Regions from separate parts of the Homo sapiens genome. Here all the other regions are linked to region 3. Evidence: promoter capture Hi-C in human tissues and cell types (Jung and others, 2019). All regions are on one chromosome and are shown on one strand. The core of a region is centred on a gene start or on the middle of the fragment in contact, and the rest is flanking DNA. Distances in the headings are between cores, read along the strand shown. Region 1 overlaps GAPVD1 (GTPase activating protein and VPS9 domains 1). Region 2 has its middle 4.9 kb from the start of PBX3-DT. Region 3 holds the start of OLFML2A (olfactomedin like 2A).

The links. Contacts are between HindIII fragments. The study calls those that stand out against the background at their distance.
Region 1: a contact is called between a fragment that was not itself captured here and the fragment with the promoter of OLFML2A in region 3, in 1 of the 25 tissues and cell types used here (lymphoblastoid cells).
Region 2: a contact is called between a fragment that was not itself captured here and the fragment with the promoter of OLFML2A in region 3, in 1 of the 25 tissues and cell types used here (dorsolateral prefrontal cortex).

Annotation. Positions count from the first base shown.
Region 1 is chr9:125,329,565-125,332,307 of GRCh38, reverse strand. GAPVD1 (GTPase activating protein and VPS9 domains 1) reads right to left here. Exons shown (of 28, transcript NM_001282680.3): 13 at 2,090-2,230; 14 at 248-382. Among named protein-coding and RNA genes, the nearest start is that of GAPVD1, 69 kb to the right of the region's middle. The HindIII fragment of the contact is 9,933 bases long and covers 1-2,743 here.
Region 2 is chr9:125,739,664-125,742,363 of GRCh38, reverse strand. No RefSeq gene overlaps it. Among named protein-coding and RNA genes, the nearest start is that of PBX3-DT, 4.9 kb to the left of the region's middle. The HindIII fragment of the contact is 6,270 bases long and covers 1-2,700 here.
Region 3 is chr9:124,775,788-124,778,491 of GRCh38, reverse strand. OLFML2A (olfactomedin like 2A) reads right to left here and starts at 1,359. Exons shown (of 8, transcript NM_182487.4): 1 at 1,132-1,359. The coding sequence starts at 1,221. RefSeq lists silencers at 986-1,285, 1,356-1,455. The HindIII fragment of the contact is 24,652 bases long and covers 1-2,704 here.

The DNA of each region.
Region 1 (2,743 bases), core at 109-2,608, 550 kb before region 3:
CTAAAGTAGGACAGGCTACTAAGAACAGAAACAGTTGTAGAGAGACTGTTTGCCAATTACTTCAACAGGCTCCATAAGGCCACACATTAAGTTCTCAAAGATTTCAGGTGCAATGGAAATAAGTTTGTTTTCTGGAAATTACTCAGCTCTTAAATATAACATATCTTTTTGTATCAACTTTATAAATAGGAGGGGGTAGGGGGTGAACACCTTCAAATCCCTACTCCTTAAAACAAGACAGACATACCGGACACAACACTGAGGCCTGGTGTGCTGGGGCGGGAACTGACCTCCCTGACATCCGTATCATCAGATGTGCTACCCAGTCCAGAACAGCTCTCCAGTTCTTGCAGACGCTCCTCCTGCTTTAGGTCTGGGGCCTCTAAATAGAAGATAAGAGGTATGTTACATTTGTGATTCTCTTAGCACACCACAATTTCAGCTTTTGTGACCCAGATAAACAAAGCTACCAGGGCATGAATAAAATCAGTGCAAATACATGTGTAAGTCTGGACTAGTTAATGCTAGTTAGATTAAGTGTTAAGTCAAAGTTGTGATTTTCATCCCAATATAAGCCAGTTCACTGTGCACAGATGAAAACGTGGTTCTAGATCACTAATGTCACAGAGTATGCTATTGATTAACATGTGAACTGGACAAGAGAGTATGGAATAGCCTGGTATTAAATCAACCACTTCCTAAAAAGTAACTCCTATGAATACTCAACAGCTGGTAAGCTAATCCTATTGTCCCCAACTGGTCTTCAAACAAGGCTAGCATATCTGAATGCTTTAACATTATAAAACAGGCCAGCCGTGGTAGCTCACACCTGTAATCCCAGCACTTTGGGAGGTCGAGGCCGGCAGATCACCTGAGGTCAGGAGTTCGAGACCAGCATGCCCAACACGGTGAAATCCCATCTCTACTAAAAATACAAAAACTAGCTAGGCGTGGTGGCAGGTGCCTGTAATCCCAGCTACTTGGGAGGCTGAGGCAAAAGAATCACTTGAACCCAGGAGGCAGAGATTGCACTGAGCCGTGATTGCACCACTGCACTCCAGCCTGGGTGACAGAGTGAGACTCCATCTCAAAAAAAAAAAAAATTATAAAACACATATCAGGATCACTTAATAATTCTTGAACCAAGTAAATCAACAGAATGTAATGCAGATACACAGTTACTTATATTTACATTCTGGTAGTTGACATTTAGTTGAAAGCAAAGATGCGTCTTCATAATCAGAAAAAAATGCAATGCATATGAAAAGACAAAGTACAAAACACTTTATATACATTTATAATAACCTGCACAAAAAAAAAATCCTCAGGATTACAGAATCTCAATTTCAACGTATTTCAAAAACACATTAAGCATGTTTTAGAGAGTCAAGTTCTCCCCTGTGATAAATCTAAATGTGTTTACCAAGCAAGCACTCAGTTTGAACTGTGTTGCTACTCTTATCCTGTCATGAGTTTGTGGAAGATACTAAATTCAATGATTCACACGGACTCTGATAATCACAGAAAATTGCTTTCAAAATAACTCAACACAGAGTCTGAAAGCACCTGCCATCACAGTCTATGCTATCTAACAGAGCATTTTCCCTTAATGGACAGAAAATGCCCTAAACTAATTTTCCATTTGACATTCTTAGCAATGTGATCACCTCATCTTTGTCAAATGTATAACTGGCTGGGCATGATGGCTCATGCCTGTAATTCCAGCACTTCGGGAGGCCAAGGTGGGCAGATCACCTGAGGTCAGTAGTTCAAGACCAGCCTGGCCAACATGGTGAAACCCTGTTTCTCTAAAAATACAAAAATTACCCGGCATGGTGGGGCATGTCTGTAATCCCAGCTACTCAGGAGGCTGAGGCGAGAAGACTGCTTGAACCCAGGAGGCAGAGGTTGCAGTAAGTTGGGATCGCGCCACAGCACTCCAGCCTGGGTAAAAGAGCAAGACTCCATCTCCATTAAAAAAAAAAAAAAAGTGTATTTGACAAAATATACATAATACAGAGTTGGGATACCTTGCATTTAATTAAAACTTCTGTATAAATGAAAAAGCAAACAATGACAGCATACTAACCTGAGTCACTTGGCAATACCTCTACACTCCAAGCTTCACTTGTTGTCTCTGATATGGTAGAACCAGTGCAGGGGTCAAGAAGCACTGACCCTGAACCTGGGAGGCACAGCAAACTGCCTAACATGTTCTCTGCTGCAGCACCTGTATAACCAGTGGGAAGCAAAGGGTTAACAAAGATCCTGGAGGAAAGTGCAGTGATAGTGGAGAAAAGCCAAACACTAGCTAACAAAATCTCCTGGCTGGGCGCGGTGGCTCACACCTGTAATCCCAGCACTTTGGGAGGCTGAGGCAGGCAGATCACTTGAGGCCAGGAGTTCAACACCAGCCTGGCCAACATGGCGAAACCCCGTCTCTACTGAAAATACAAAAATTAGCCAGGTATGGTGGCGTGCACCGGTAGTCTCAGCTACTTGGGAAGCTGAGGCACAAGAACCCGGGAGGCAGAGGTTGCAGGGGGTGCAGAGACTGCAGTGAGCCGAGGTCATGCCATTGCCCTCCAACCTGGTCAATGTGAGTGAGACCCTGTCTCAAAAATAAAAATGGCCGTGTCATTTTGGGACTTTGTCTCAAAAAAAAAAAAAAAACCACCAAATTCCTCTCTACCTACAAGAAAGAGGCCAAAGTAAGAATAACTTCAATCAAGCACACCACTAA
Region 2 (2,700 bases), core at 146-2,645, 960 kb before region 3:
TTGTATGGATGAGGTCTCGCTATGGTGCTCAGGCTGCGTTCAAACTCCTGGCCTCAAGGGATCATCCCACCTCAGCATCTCGAAGTACTGGGATTACAGGCATGAGCCACTGCACCCAGACAGGAATGACTCTTTAGAATTGGTCTTTACAGTTGATAGCACATGTGACATATGACCAACGTTTATCTTCTAAGGATGGATTTGATTGAGTTACCAAAGATTTAGTGGGATAACAGTCCATCCTTCTAAAGTGATGCCTTTAAAAGAGAATATTTATCAGAATGTATAATTTCTAGAAAAATTTGGTAGAATGCTCCCTCTCTTATGTCCCTTCATAGCACCCAGTACGGTGCAGTTTCATACAGAATAGACAGTTGGGGCCGACATGACCAGTTGTTGGCCTGCCATCCATTGGCTTACTTCCTTCTACACCAATAGAAGCCTGATTTTATTCTGAAGACAATGTGCTCAGTCCCAATCAAGGTCTAAAACAAGTATGAGCATCCTGTCCCCTGCCTTCTGAGCCTGTCAGGAGGAGGGGTGACCTTGCTAATTTTTTAAAAAAGGGACAGATAGGCCAGGCGTGCTGGCTCATGCCTGTAATCCCAGCAATTTGGCCACTGCACTCCAGCCTGGGCAAAGAACGAGACCCTGTCTCAGAAAAAGAAAAAAAAGGGGACAGACATGGCTCTTCTCTCCTTCATTTTCCTGGCTCTTTCCATCTTTGAAAGTAGTCCTGAATCTGGAGTGCTCATAGCAGCCACCTGTGATAGTGAAATGAAAATATGAAGACAAAATCAACATGGTTTGGTGGTTTATATCTGTGGTCTTCCTCCCAAAGCTTGTAATCCCAGACCAATAATTAGAAAAATATTACACAAATACTAATTGAAGGACATTCTACAAAATACCTGGCCAGTAATTTCTCTGGTCTTTGTACTCCTTGTAACTGTCAAGGTCATAAAGAGTAAGAAAAGTTGAAAAACTGTCACAACCAAGAAGAGCCTAAGGAGAAATGAGGACTGGATGTAATCTAGCATTCTGGATGGGATCCTGGAACAGAAAAGGGATATTAGGTAAAAACTATGGAAATTTGGCCAGGCGCGGTGGCTCACGCCTGTAATCTCAGCACTTTGGGAGGCCGAGACAGGCGGATCATGAGGTCAGGAGATCGAGACCATCCTGGCTAATACAGTGAAACCCCGTCTCTACTAAAAAAATTTTTTAAAAAAATTAGCCGGGCGTGGTGGCTGGCGCCTGTAGTCCCAGCTACTCGGGAGGCTGAGGCAGGAGAATGGCGTGAACCCAGAAGGCAGAGCTTGCAGTGAGCCCAGATGGCGCCGCTGCACTCCAGCCTGGGCAACAGAGCGAGACTCCGTCTCAAGAAAAAAAAAAAAAACTATGGAAATTTGAATAAAGTATACACTTCAGTTAGTGATAACATTTCACATTGGTTCATTAATTTCAAAAAGTACCATATTAATGTGAGATGTTAATAATAGAGGAAATAGTGTATGGGATATTAGGGAACTCTCTGTACCACCTTCTAAATTTTTTTTTCTTTTTTTTTTTTTTTTGAGACGGAGTCTCGCTCTGTCGCCCAGGCTGGAGTGCAGTGGCGCAATCTCGGCTCACTGCAAGCTCCACCTCCTGGATCCACGCCATTCTCCTGCCTCAGCCTCCGGAGTAGCTGGGACTACAGGCACCCACCACCACGCCTGGCTAATTTTTTGTATTTTCAGTAGAGGTAGGGTTTCACCGTGTTAGCCAGGATGGTCTCGATCTCCTGACCTCATGATCCACCCACCTCGGCCTCCCAAAGTGCTGGGATTACAGGCATGAGCCACCGCATCCGGCCCCACCACCTTCTAATTTTTATCTGTAAATACTTTAAAAAAAAACATTCAGGGCCAGGAGCGGTGGCTCACGCCTGTAATCCCAGCACTTTGGGAGGCTGAGGCGGGTGAATCACGAGGTCAGGAGATCGAGACCATCCTGGCTAACACGGTGAAACCCCGTCTCTACTAAAAATACAAAAAAATTAGCCAGGCATGGTGGCAGCCGGCTGTAGTCCCAGCTACTCGGGAGGCTGAGGCAGGAGAATGACGTCGACCTGGGAGGTGGAGCTTGCAGTGAGCCGAGACTGAGCCACTGCACTCCAGCCTGGGTGACAGAGCGAGACTCTGTCTCAAAAAAAAAAAAAATAAGTAAATAAAATAAAACATTCATTCAAAACAAAAATAAACATGGTAAGTGGGGTAGAAAGATAAGGAGAGCCTAGGTGTCTGCAGACATGGTCCAACATCTGAGCCAAAGAAGCAACTGCTTTCCCTTGGATTTCTAGTTTTGTGAGTAAATTCATCTCCTGTTTTAAAATCCTATTGGCTGGGTTTTCTGTATCTTGCAGAAAAGCTGATATAGCACTATAAACACTTATATGACAGATGTATGTGTGGATGGATGGATGGATGGATGGATGGATGGATGGATGGACTGATGGATGGATGGATGGAATAGCCTAGCACAATGCCCGACACATAGTAGGAGCTCCTAGAGTGGGGGAGATGATGTATGATAAAAAAAAAAATTCCTCTCGTCTTTGTATTGGATTCCTGGGAGGTAACATCTAAAACCCTTGAAATCTCCCAAGCTATAAGAGTGTTTTTATTATTCATGAGGCCCTTAGATCACATCTAATTT
Region 3 (2,704 bases), core at 110-2,609:
TCCACCTGCCTTGGCCTCCCAAAGTGCTAGGATTACAGGTGTGAGCCACTGAACCTGGCCATCAGGGAGTCATTTCCAGAACACCCCAAGTGCTCTGGTGCTAAGTATTTTTTTTTTTTCTTTTTTTTTTTGACACGGAGTCTCGCTCTGTCGCCCAGGCTGGAGTGCAGTGGCGCGATCTCGGCTCACTGCAAGCTCCGCCTCCCGGGTTCACGCCATTCTCCTACCTCAGCTTCCGGAGTAGCTGGGACTACAGGCGCCCACCACCATGCCTGGCTACTTTTTTTTGTATTTTTAGTAGAGACGGGGTTTCACCGTGTTAGCCAGGATGGTCTCGATCTCCTGACCTTGTGATCCGCCCGTCTCGGCCTCCCAAAGTGCTGGGATTACAGGCGTGAGCCACCGCGCCCGGCCTAGTGCTAAGTACTTTACAGGCATGACCACACCGCATCTAGAGACCATCAACTGCAGGAAGTGGGTCCCATGATTCTCCCTGTATCTACAGGTGAATAGACGGAGGCTCAGATGGGCGATGGCGGATGAGAAGCGGATGTGCGACTGAACCCAGGTCGGCTTGACACCAGAGCAGATCCTCTTAGCCACAGCAGAGAACAGCTCAGACCACTTCTGGAGCTACCTAGTCCTCCAGGGGGTGCACCCGGTCCCTGGCAAGAACATCAGAGGCCAGGCGAGTGGCCAGCGCGGCTGCGTTCATCGGGTAGAGAAGACCCCCAGTCCCCAGCGGGCCGTGAAAGCCGTGGCCCAGGGCTTGCTGCAAGCCTGGGAGTCGTTGGGTAACAGTTGCCAGGAGCTTCCCCTACGAACCCCGAGTCTGGCCAGCACTCCGGGGAAATCCCCCGACCCCTCCGGGAATCGGACCCGGTCCCAGCGCCCCTTCCTCAGGCCCCGGGTCCCTAGCATCCCTACATCTCCAGCGCTTGTTCCTCCACGCGCCCCTCTCTCGGGGCCCCTGCCCCTGCGGCTTCAGTGCTGAGAAGTCCCAGGTTCGGTCTCTCAGCTCCCGGCTCCTCCGCCCTGGCCCCGGGCTCCCTCCCGGGCCGCACCCCAGCCACAGCGCCCCCTCGCGCCCCGCTACCCGCCGAGCCGCGCGGGTCCGAGGGGCGTGCGTACCTTACTGTCGGCGCGCGTGGGGCGGCCGCTCAGCAGCAGCACTAGCGGCAGAAGGAGCAGCGGCCGGGGCGGGAGGGCGGCAGCGGCCATGGCGCCACGGGCACGGTAGGCACAGGCGGCCGGGCACGGACGCTGGGAAGCGCGGGCTGCACTGCGAGCTCCGCGCCTTCGCCCGCTCTGCCTGCCCCGCGCCCCGCGCCTGCACCCTGCTGCCAGCCCCGCGGGTCTTCCAGCGCCGCCAGGGGCGGAGCTAGGGCGGAGGGGGCACCCCGCCCCGCCCCGCCCGCCGTTCGCGGGGCCTCCCCGTCGTCGGGCGGCTCTCCCAAGGGCATCCCTGCCCGCGCGCCAGGGTGGGTCTCGATCGCAGCCGGCAGGAGCAACGGGGCCAGGGCGAGGCGCGTGGGCTCCTCTCACGGACTCAGGTCCTGTCCTGTGAGTCGTGGGACCTTGGGCGTGTCCCTTCACCTGTGTGCCTCAGTTTCCTCATCTGTAAGATGGGGGACTCGTGCTTTCCTTTTGGAGTGTTTGTAAAGTTCGCATGAGAGACGGATGTTCCCAGGGCACGTGAGCCCTTGCGCTCTCCGATTTCACCCACTTCTGGACAGGGACCTGACTGCTGTAAGCCTTCCCAAGGCTCAGCAACCCCAACCTGTCTTCCGTCTTTCATTTCTCCTTCCCTCTGGAATCCCTCCTGTCGGCTCCCAAACTCCAGTAGCTTCCGGCTTTTAAATTTTTATTTTTCTCACTCTGTTGCCCAGGCCGTAGTGCAGTGGTGCGATCCCAGCTCACTACAGCCTTGACCTTCCCAGCTCAAGTGATCCTCCCACCTCAGCCTCCTGAGTAGCTGAAACTACAGGTGTGCACCACTACACCTGGCTAATTTAAAGTTTTTTTTTTTTTTGCAGAGACGGGGTCTCACTCTGTTGCCTAGACTGGTCTTGAACTTCTGGGCTCAAGCAATCCTCCCACCTTGGCCTCCGAAAGTGTTGAGATTACAGGCATGAGCCACTGCACCCAGCATTTCCTTTTTTTTTTTTGACTGGGTCTTCCTTTGTCACCCAGGCTGGAGTGCTGTGTTGCGAATACAGCTCACTGTATCGTCAACTTTCCAGCTCAAGCTATCCTCCTCCCTCAGCCTTCTGAATAACTTGGACTACAGGCATGTGCCACCATGCTGGCTAATTTCTGTATTTATTTTAGGGATGGGGTCTTCTGTGTTGCCCAGGCTCTCAAACTCCCGGGCTCAAGCAATCCAGCCACCCTAGTCTCTCAAAGTGTTGGGATTACAAGTGTGAGCCACCATGCTTGGTCTCATTTTCTTCATAGAATTTATTGCTCAATGGGACTGTCTTTCTTGTTGGTGTGTTTGTTTCCTTGTGTTGGAGCATGACTTCCTAGGGCACATTCTTAGTTTCTCCCCATGAACATTGAACTCAGTGGTTCTCAAAGTGTGGTCCTTGGTCTCAGCCTCCGCATCATCGGATAACTTGTTAAAAATGCAAACTCTCCCAGCCTGGGCAACATGGTGAAAACTCGCCTCTACTAAAAATACAAAAATTAGGCTGATGTGGTG